Linked DNA regions of Homo sapiens: region 2 is linked to region 1. The links are contacts of gene promoters, found by promoter capture Hi-C in human tissues and cell types (Jung and others, 2019). All regions are on one chromosome and are shown on one strand. The core of a region is centred on a gene start or on the middle of the fragment in contact, and the rest is flanking DNA. Distances in the headings are between cores, read along the strand shown. Region 1 holds the start of OR13C2 (olfactory receptor family 13 subfamily C member 2). Region 2 overlaps LOC107987105 (a long non-coding RNA gene).

What was found. Contacts are between HindIII fragments. The study calls those that stand out against the background at their distance.
Region 2: a fragment that was not itself captured here is called in contact with the fragment with the promoter of OR13C2 in region 1 in 1 of the 25 tissues and cell types used here (hippocampus).

Annotation. Positions count from the first base shown.
Region 1 is chr9:104,603,706-104,608,492 of GRCh38, reverse strand. It overlaps OR13C2 (olfactory receptor family 13 subfamily C member 2), which reads left to right and starts at 2,866. Exons shown (of 1, transcript NM_001004481.1): 1 at 2,866-3,822. The coding sequence starts at 2,866. The coding sequence ends at 3,822. All of the region lies in intron 3 of LOC107987105 (a long non-coding RNA gene), which reads left to right. The HindIII fragment of the contact is 6,361 bases long and covers 1-4,610 here.
Region 2 is chr9:104,550,664-104,555,450 of GRCh38, reverse strand. All of the region lies in intron 4 of LOC107987105 (a long non-coding RNA gene), which reads left to right. Among named protein-coding and RNA genes, the nearest start is that of OR13C8, 16 kb to the left of the region's middle. The HindIII fragment of the contact is 5,813 bases long and covers 1-4,767 here.

The DNA.
Region 1 (4,787 bases), core at 1,617-4,116:
AGGAGAGAAAAAGAAGGCAATCACTTCCTGAATGAAAAAAATGAGTAGTGTTCAACTTAATGAAAACAAATAGTGAATGACAACTTCGTCAATTAGCAAAAATAAAAAACTGGGAAAAAGAGAATGCAATAATTCAAATAATGAATAAAAATAAAGTATGATGGAAAGAATAAGATGTAGTACATTAATAATTATGTTAAAGTAAATAGAATAGTCTGAATATTCTCATAAATGACCCAAACATTTAAAAAGTAGTTAAAACATACTCTGATATTTGTTATTTAAAAGTAGTATACTTTAAACAAAGTGAAAAAGAGAAGTTAAAAATAAGAAGTTGTACAAAGAGATAGCAGACAAAAGCAAACTAAAAGAAAGCGGGAGTGTAATATCAATATCATAAAAGTAGAATTAAACTTTAAAGTGTCAAATAGAATAAAGATACATCAATTAATGATAAGTTATAATTTATGAAGATGATATATTAACCATAAATCTATCTACACTACACTAACATAGAAACTAAGCCTATATAACAAAAGGATTCTAGGTATACAAGAATTTGATAACAATATTTACATAGAATTCATTAAATCTAGGCAGCAGAAAATAGGTTATTTCAAAGATTTTAATAATATATTTAATAAATTTTACATGTATACCTGTTTTGTGCATGTATTTAAAACTATGTATCTTCCCAAAGAGAAATCACATTTTTTTGTTAACATTTACAACATACATCATGCAATTGGCTGCACAAAAGTCCATAACTAGAGAATTATAGGTCATGTTTTCTATTAAAATAAAATGGGGCCGGGCGTGGTGGCTCACACTTCTGATCCCAGAACTTTGGGAGGCTGAGGTGGATCACTTGAGGTCAGGAGTGCAAGATCAGCAAGGGCAACATGGCGAAACCCTGTCTGTACCAAAAACACAAAAATTAGCCAGGCGTGGTGGTGCATGCCTGTAGTCCCAGCTACTCAGAAGGCTGAGACAGGAGAATCACTTGAACCAGGGAGGTAGAGGCTACAGTGAGCCAAGATGGCGCCACTGCACTCCAGCCTGAATGACAGAGCGAGACTTTGTCGCAGAAAAAAATAAAAATAAAAATATATAAATTAATTAAATAAAATGGGAAATAAATAATAAAAATAGAATGAAAATGCCTAATCACTAAATAATGAAGAAAGATGCTTGGATTTAAGAGGAACTAAAGAGAAAAACAAAAAAATTATCTAGAAACCAGTAAAAAAAATTCTCATAGAAAACTAAGTCTATAATAGAACAAAAACTGTTCTAAGTGCCTTTATTTGAGCAAGAAATAGAGGAGTAAGGAGGAGGAAATAAGAATTTTTCTTCTTATTTCAAGAAATTAGATAAATAGTATTAGAATAGAGAACATAGAAATTAGAAATCAGAAACTTAGAAAAATAGATCCGAATAAACAAGAAACTTATGAAGACAGAAACTTAATGAAACTCAAAAAGTCACGAGGATAAATCTAACCTAAAGCTGTTTTTTTTTTTTTTTAAAGACCTGTAATATAGGAAAACCCCTTGTGAGTCGAATAAAGGAAAAAAAAAAGTCAAACAGGCATCATAATGAAAATGAGAACTTTTCATGTAAGGGAGGACACAAGAATTATAATGATCAAATGCAACTCTGTGACAAAATATTTGTTATAGAAATGAGTACTTTTCTAGCAAAATATAAAGTATAAAATCAACTGCTATCAAATTACCATATTGAAATCTTCTTTTTTTTATCTGATCACAGTTTTTATCTGATATTTCTTTTGAAATATTAGTATTGTTAATTAGAATACAAGGTATTCTAGTCTGTGAGCCAAATTCTCTTTGCCAAATGAGTATTAGAGCTCGAATTCTGAAGCCATACTGCTTGGGTTTAAGTCCTTGCTCTTTCATTTATTTGTCTTTATGAAATTGACCTTAAGCAAATTACTTAACTTTTCTGTGCCTTATTTTCCCCTCTACACAATAGGCTTGGTGATACTAATAGTAACAGTAATTACCTCATAGGCTTGCTATTCAGACTCCATTATGTAATGCACAAAGAAAACAATTAATAGAGGATTGGCACACAGTAAGAAATGTAGCAATTATTTTGCCTTTGATTTTGTTCATTCATCCAAGAAATGTTTTTGAACATTTGCATCTGTGTCTGTTCTATTCTAGCTACAGGGGCTGTGGAAATAAGCAAGAATAAGTACCAGCCCTAATGAAGTTTACATTCTACTGGGAAAGAGAGACAACATACGTAACATAGTATAATTTCAAGGAGTGACAAGAGCATCGATCTATTGTGTGGTGATTTATAGCCAATAAAAATAGTTTAGTGTTCAAGTATATGTAATACAATGCTCATTTCTATTATAACCTACAGTTTATGTATGTGATGACAAATATGACAAAAAGTTCAGACTTCAACAGGAAGATTTAGGTTTGAATCTTAGCTCTGCTATATAGTATTTACCTTTGGTCAAGTTTACTTAACATATCTGCTTTGATTTATTCATCTGTAAAATATGGATACTAATACGCCTCTCCTAGAACTGTGATGATATTAAATGAATTAAATGGCTGTAGCACGAAACATGTTAGTTTTATCTTCCCTTCCCTCTCTCCATTCACTCATTCATTCATTCCCTTCCCTCTCTCCATTCATAATTCCCTCTTTTCTGTCCACTTTTCTTTATGCTCTCTCTTCTTTCTTTGGTCTTTTCCTTTTTTATTTTTCTTTTTCCTGGGGATTATGATACATATTCATTGATACATGCTTGAAAGTAATCAGAGTAAGATAAATATTTGTCTTAACATGCTCTCTCTTACAGGTTAAATAGAGAGTAAAATGGAATGGGAAAACCACACCATTCTGGTGGAATTTTTTCTGAAGGGACTTTCTGGTCACCCAAGACTTGAGTTACTCTTTTTTGTGCTCATCTTCATAATGTATGTGGTCATCCTTCTGGGGAATGGTACTCTCATTTTAATCAGCATCTTGGACCCTCACCTTCACACCCCTATGTACTTCTTTCTGGGGAACCTCTCCTTCTTGGACATCTGCTACACCACCACCTCTATTCCCTCCACGCTAGTGAGCTTCCTTTCAGAAAGAAAGACCATTTCCCTTTCTGGCTGTGCAGTGCAGATGTTCCTCGGCTTGGCCATGGGGACAACAGAGTGTGTGCTTCTGGGCATGATGGCCTTTGACCGCTATGTGGCTATCTGCAACCCTCTGAGATATCCCATCATCATGAGTAAGGATGCCTATGTACCCATGGCAGCTGGGTCCTGGATCATAGGAGCTGTCAATTCTGCAGTACAATCAGTGTTTGTGGTACAATTGCCTTTCTGCAGGAATAACATCATCAATCATTTCACCTGTGAAATTCTGGCTGTCATGAAACTGGCCTGTGCTGACATCTCAGACAATGAGTTCATCATGCTTGTGGCCACAACATTGTTCATATTGACACCTTTGTTATTAATCATTGTCTCTTACACGTTAATCATTGTGAGCATCTTCAAAATTAGCTCTTCCGAGGGGAGAAGCAAAGCTTCCTCTACCTGTTCAGCCCATCTGACTGTGGTCATAATATTCTATGGGACCATCCTCTTCATGTACATGAAGCCCAAGTCTAAAGAGACACTTAATTCGGATGACTTGGATGCTACCGACAAAATTATATCCATGTTCTATGGGGTGATGACTCCCATGATGAATCCTTTAATCTACAGTCTTAGAAACAAGGATGTGAAAGAGGCAGTAAAACACCTACTGAACAGAAGGTTCTTTAGCAAGTGAGTGCAAAATGTACTGGAATATGAACACACTTGATATTGTTGAAACTTCAGAATTATGTTAGAATTTTGGGTACTTTTACTATTTTTATGCATTTTCATATATTATGTTAAAATAATGAGATACAGCATTTCAAAATTATTGCATGTCCACTCTAGAGAATTTGCAAGATACAGGGCAGTAGGATGAAGAAGAAAGAGGGGTTACCTATTACTCTACTAGTGGGAAATGGCCCCGTTTCAACATTTTGAACAGTAACTTTCATATTATGGGTTTTTTTTTCTGCATTGGAATTGGGTGTGATGTGCCTTTTTATGTTCACTTTTTTCCATAATGTTATTTCATAGGCAACATTTCATAGAATCTTTCAAAATAAATAAAGCCCTCTGTTGTAGAAAAAGCAAAACAGAAAAACCCCAACATAGTGTACTCACATTTTCCAGGGACAAGCCTTGTGTTATAGTTTCACGTTAATCTCCAGATCCTGTTAAGCCACTAAATACCAGTTTCTTTTTCTGTATTAAATTTTGTGTGTGTGTGAAGTTGAGTATCTGGGACTATCAAAGGGCAGTAGATAAATAGAGTTTAAAAGCAGGGCCTATGCAATCAGTCAGGATATCCTGCTTTATGGTCTTTCTTTGCTTTAACTTACATGTTGGCTCTAAAGAACATTTTGCAAAATTAAAAATGGGTTTGAAAATCAGTCTACTGGTCTAGATAATAATGTGGACTACTTTTGGGCTGAATGGAGTGTCATATCAATGCCCATTTAGAAGATGCCAGATTTCTTTGCTGTCCCGAGGGAATTCCAATATTTTTCCAAATCTTAGAAGAATGTCCAAGCTCTTAATTTTTAGTAAGAATACTATTGATGTCTTGTCTCTGTTACTAACTAGTTTGATTTGAGGAAGAAGAGGATTGGGGAAAGTCAGATACTACCTTGCTTTTCCTTGGTTTTTACGTCAACT
Region 2 (4,787 bases), core at 612-3,111, 52 kb after region 1:
TGAAGTCATTGCTTAGATCAATGTCATGGAGTGTTTCCCCCATGTTTAGTTCTAATAATTTTATAGTTTTGGGTTTTACATTTAAGTATTTAATCCATTTTAAGTTGATTTTTTTATGTGGTGAGACTTAGCGGTCTAGTTTTATTTTTCTGCATATGGATATTCAGTTTTCCCAGCACTATTTATTAAAGAGGGTGTCTCTTTCCCAATATAGATTTTTGATGCCTTTGTTAAAAATTAGTTGGCTGTAAATATGTGGATTTATTTCTGATTCTCTATTCTTTTCTGTCAGTCTATATGTCTATTTTAATACTAGCACCATGATATTTTGTTTGTTATAGCCTTGGAATATATTTTGAAGTCAGGTAGTGTGAAGTCTCCAGCTTTGTTCTTTCTGCTCAGGATTGCTTTGGCTATTTGGGCCCTTTTTTGGTTCCATATGAATTTTAGAATTTCTTTTTCTGTTTCTGTGAAAAATGACATTGGCATTTCAATAGGAATTTCATTGAATCTATAGGTGCTTTGGATAGTATGGTCATTTTAATGGTATTAATTCTTTTAATTCATGAGTGTGGATGTCTTTCCATTTCCATCCTCCTCAATTTCGTTCACCAGTGTTTTGAGGTTTTCCTTGTAGAAATCTTTTACCTCCTTGGTTACACTTATTTCTAAGTATTTTATTTTCTTTTAGCTATTATAAATGGGATTTACTTATTGATTTCCTTTTCAGCTACTTTGTTTATGGTTTCTAGAAATGTTACTGATTTTTGTATATTGATTTTGTATCCTATAACTTTACTGAATTTATTTATCAGATCTAAGAGTTTTTGGTGGAGTCTTTTGATTTTTCTAAATATAAGAACATGTCATCTGCAAATAAGGACTATTTGACTTCCTCTTTTCTAATTTACTTATTTTCTAATTTATTTATATATTTGCTTAATTGCTCTGGGTTGGACATCCAGTACTATGTTGAATAGGAGTGGTGAAAGTGGGTATTCTTATCTAGTTCCAATTCTTGGAGGAGAGGCTTTCAGCTTGTCCCCATTCTGGATTATGTTTTCTGTGGGTTTGTCATATATGGCCTCAGCATAACGTTTTGTTATGCTGAGATATGTTCCTTCTATGCCTAGTTTGTTGAGAGTTTTTATTATGAAGGGATGCTGAATTTTATCAAAACCACAATTATTTTTGCACCAACCTAATTTTATTTGTATTGGGTACTCCAGTTTAGGGTATATATAGATTTATTTAGAATTATTCTATTCTCTTGCTAAATTTATCCTTTTGTAATTATATCAAACATGTTATTTGCATTAATGACTTATTGCTGGTTACCCTGACGTAACAATGGTTTCAATCTGTCAATAGTCTGAGTACACATTTTGAACCCCAAATGTTGATTTCCCAACGACACTATCATAACAGGAGTTAGTAACCTACAAATACAATTTAGTTTGAGGAAGCTAAAGAGATTCCCATAGGCTTCCTCAGCAAACCCTGACCTAACAATGGTTTCAATTTGTCAATTATTTGTTACTTTGCTTACCGTCCTCCACCATTAGAGCACATGACACTTTGAACATGTTTTAAACAAAGGTTTTAAAGAAAGAAGGTTTCTGCAGGAAAATAGCTTTGTTTTTGTGGATGGCATTTAAAAATACATCCAAGAGATAATAGTCTCTTGCTATCAACATCTCCTGAGATAACCAGTTCATGTTAGCCTTTTCTTTTTGTGTAATTGGTTTTTTTCTTTGCTTTCTTCTATATCAGTAAATACTTACCCTTCTTTTATTTTTATTAATTTTTACCCAGATTATCCTCCTTGAGGTTAGGTTGTTAAGTGCATTAAGATGACTGATCCAAAAAACTGGCAGCAACAAAAGTCTACCCAATGATTTTCCCCTTCATCTGTTCATCATTGTATGGAGTAGGGTTAGACAAACACAAACAGATAGGCCTGCCTCATCCACTGAGCAGGAAAGAGACAAAGCCCACGAATCCCACATTTTAAAAAATGAAAAGAAGGAATGACTCATTCTGAAGGAATGATGGACAGTTATATTTAGAGATACTGTCACAGCATCATGTTCAGCAACTGATCCTTCCTCCAAAACTCAAAAATGCTATCTGTGTTTCACCAATATTATCAAGCAAAGAAAAAAATTAGAAATAGGGAAGTTTCTGTAAGTGCTTATATCTTTCCTGTCACTTTTCCATGTCTTTATAAATATATCTCAATAATGTATTCATCAATCCCTCTTTTCTTTAACATACATATATTTTGACACAAATTCATTCAGTTGTGAAAGTTATCCTACCAGTCTCCTGTCACCCTCCCTACATTTAATAAGCAGATTTAGGTTTTCAATCAGTCCACTTTGTACATCGATGTATATGATGAGTCTATTGTATATGATGCTTCATAACTTGTTATATTTAACTTGGAGTAAAATAGATCCCTTAATTAGGTATTGAACATTCAAATTAGTATAAGCTTGTTATAAGCCTTTAATAGTGGTAGTGGTATTTGCTTTATTTTCTAAGTATGCAAATCCAAATCCTGAACGAGTGTCTCTCTTATTCAAGAGTCATTTTTATCCACCTGGAACTAAGGGTAATGGCCAGTATAATCCACTTGCTAACTTTAAGTCTTCCTGGATCCTTTCAGTAAATATTATATTTTGGGTTGAATTGTGTCCTTCCAAAAGATGTGTTGAAGTCCTAACGTCAGAATCCTCAGAAGGTGACCTTATTTGGAAATAGGGTCATTGCAGTTGTAATTAGTTAAGATGAGATCATACTGGAGCAAGGTGAATTATTGATACAATATGACTAGTGTCCTTGTAAGAACAGCAGAGACAAAGAGACACAAGACACATGGGGGAAAATGCCATGTGACAATGGAGGCAGAGACTGAAGCACCATGGTTGCAAGCCAAGGAATGCCAAGGATTCCTGACAAATCACCCAAAGTTAAGAAGAGGCAAGGGAAGATTTCCCCCTACCAATTTCAGGGAATCTTGACCCTGCTAACACCCTGAGTTGGACTTGAGCTTCCAGAACTGTAGATAATACATTGCTGGTGTTTTAAGTAATCGAGTTTGTGGTACTTTGTCATGGCAGCCCTAGGAAATTAATGCATAGTCCATAACTGCTTTTAGTTTCCAATTTCTTTATGCTGATAAGCATAACAATTTTTGGTACATTTGCAGCTTCGAGAGAGTGGGATGCATATTTTTTGCACACATTGTTGCACTGCTTGAATGCTTCCATGCCTTTTTGTTTCATGTCTCCAAGAGGCCACTTTCAAAGAGCTAATGAAGTCTTCCATTTGTTTATTCTAGTCCTTTTCTGAATTCAGAATGAAATTTTATGACAGGCGTAGACCTATCCCACTTTGGTTATCCCTCTTCAGGTCCATAAAATGTTCTGTAACTTACCATCTCATACATGGATTCCCTTGTTATCTTTCAGTTTTTATAAGGCTCATTTTTCAGACTAAATTGCCAATCCATACTCTGCTGCCTAAGAATTGTGTATACTATATTATTGTTTTTATTATCTAGTTTCTCTGATGATGAGATACAGTGTTAATTCTGCCACTGGGCAGATTTATCTTTTTCTTTTTTGAAGTGCAGTTATAGACCAGTCACAATGTTGTTATCTTTGAAGTTGAGTGTCAGCTTTCTACGCTTGACATGGTGGAGAGTAGACATGGTGCTGCTTGTTTGGCATCCTCTGATAACTGGTAATAGGGAGGGGTCCATTTGTCTATGGGGTAAAAAACTCAAGGAGATTAGTATGTGGCCAAAGACATAGCAGACCTTTTCATGTATGCTATGGATACCTCCACTTGTCCACTTTCTCATGTTCTTGAATATGCCATTTCCATTTAACCAGGAACGCTTATGTGCATTTATCTTTCTGTTGGAATGCTCTTCTCATATGACCCATAATATTATGCATATTTCAGTTGTCAAAATAATTTTACATACTTTCCTAACAGAATAAGCCTAAATTAATGCTTGACATGCCAATGATTGACTTTCAAAAGGCATGAAACTGGAGGCCTCCTACAGTAATTGTCTATGGTAAAATCCCCATGGTTGTCCCAGTGTAGTAGCAGTAATGGAATTTGGCCAAAAGCTCCCATCATTGTGATTACAATTTGACACTGCTAGTAATATATGAGAATTGGGGTTTTAGGATTCCAAAGGTTTCAACAGGGCAATGGCTATTAGAAGCTCCAAGGGCATCTGCTGTTGTTCAGAGCCCCTGATGTTAACAGTTCAGAGCTCCATTCAAATTCAGCATTTCCTTATCCCCTGGCAGTTCTGTGAATGGAGAATAATAATATTACCAGATATGATATATGATTTATTCATAAATCAATCAATCAATTTTTTAGTCTCTTGTTTTGATTTTGGAGCTCACAGAATAATAAGTTATTTTTGATTGTTTGAGGAATGTCTTCTAGTGATTTCAGCCCAAATAATTTCTAAAAATCCTCAGAAAAAATACTGCTTGTGTTTGACCCTATATTTTAGAAAGTTTAATCAATCACTCCCTGGTGGCTGTATTATTTACCATCATTTGTAATTCAGTTTGACATTCAGATTAAAACAGAATTACATCATCAAAATAATTAATAACAGTAATTTTCAATTGAATATAATGTCTCCTCACTATAATGTGGCAATAAACAAGACAATTTAAATGTCCTCTGGGAACACAGTAATTATGCATTGGTATCCATCTTTACTGGCTTTGAATTTGTTCTGAAAT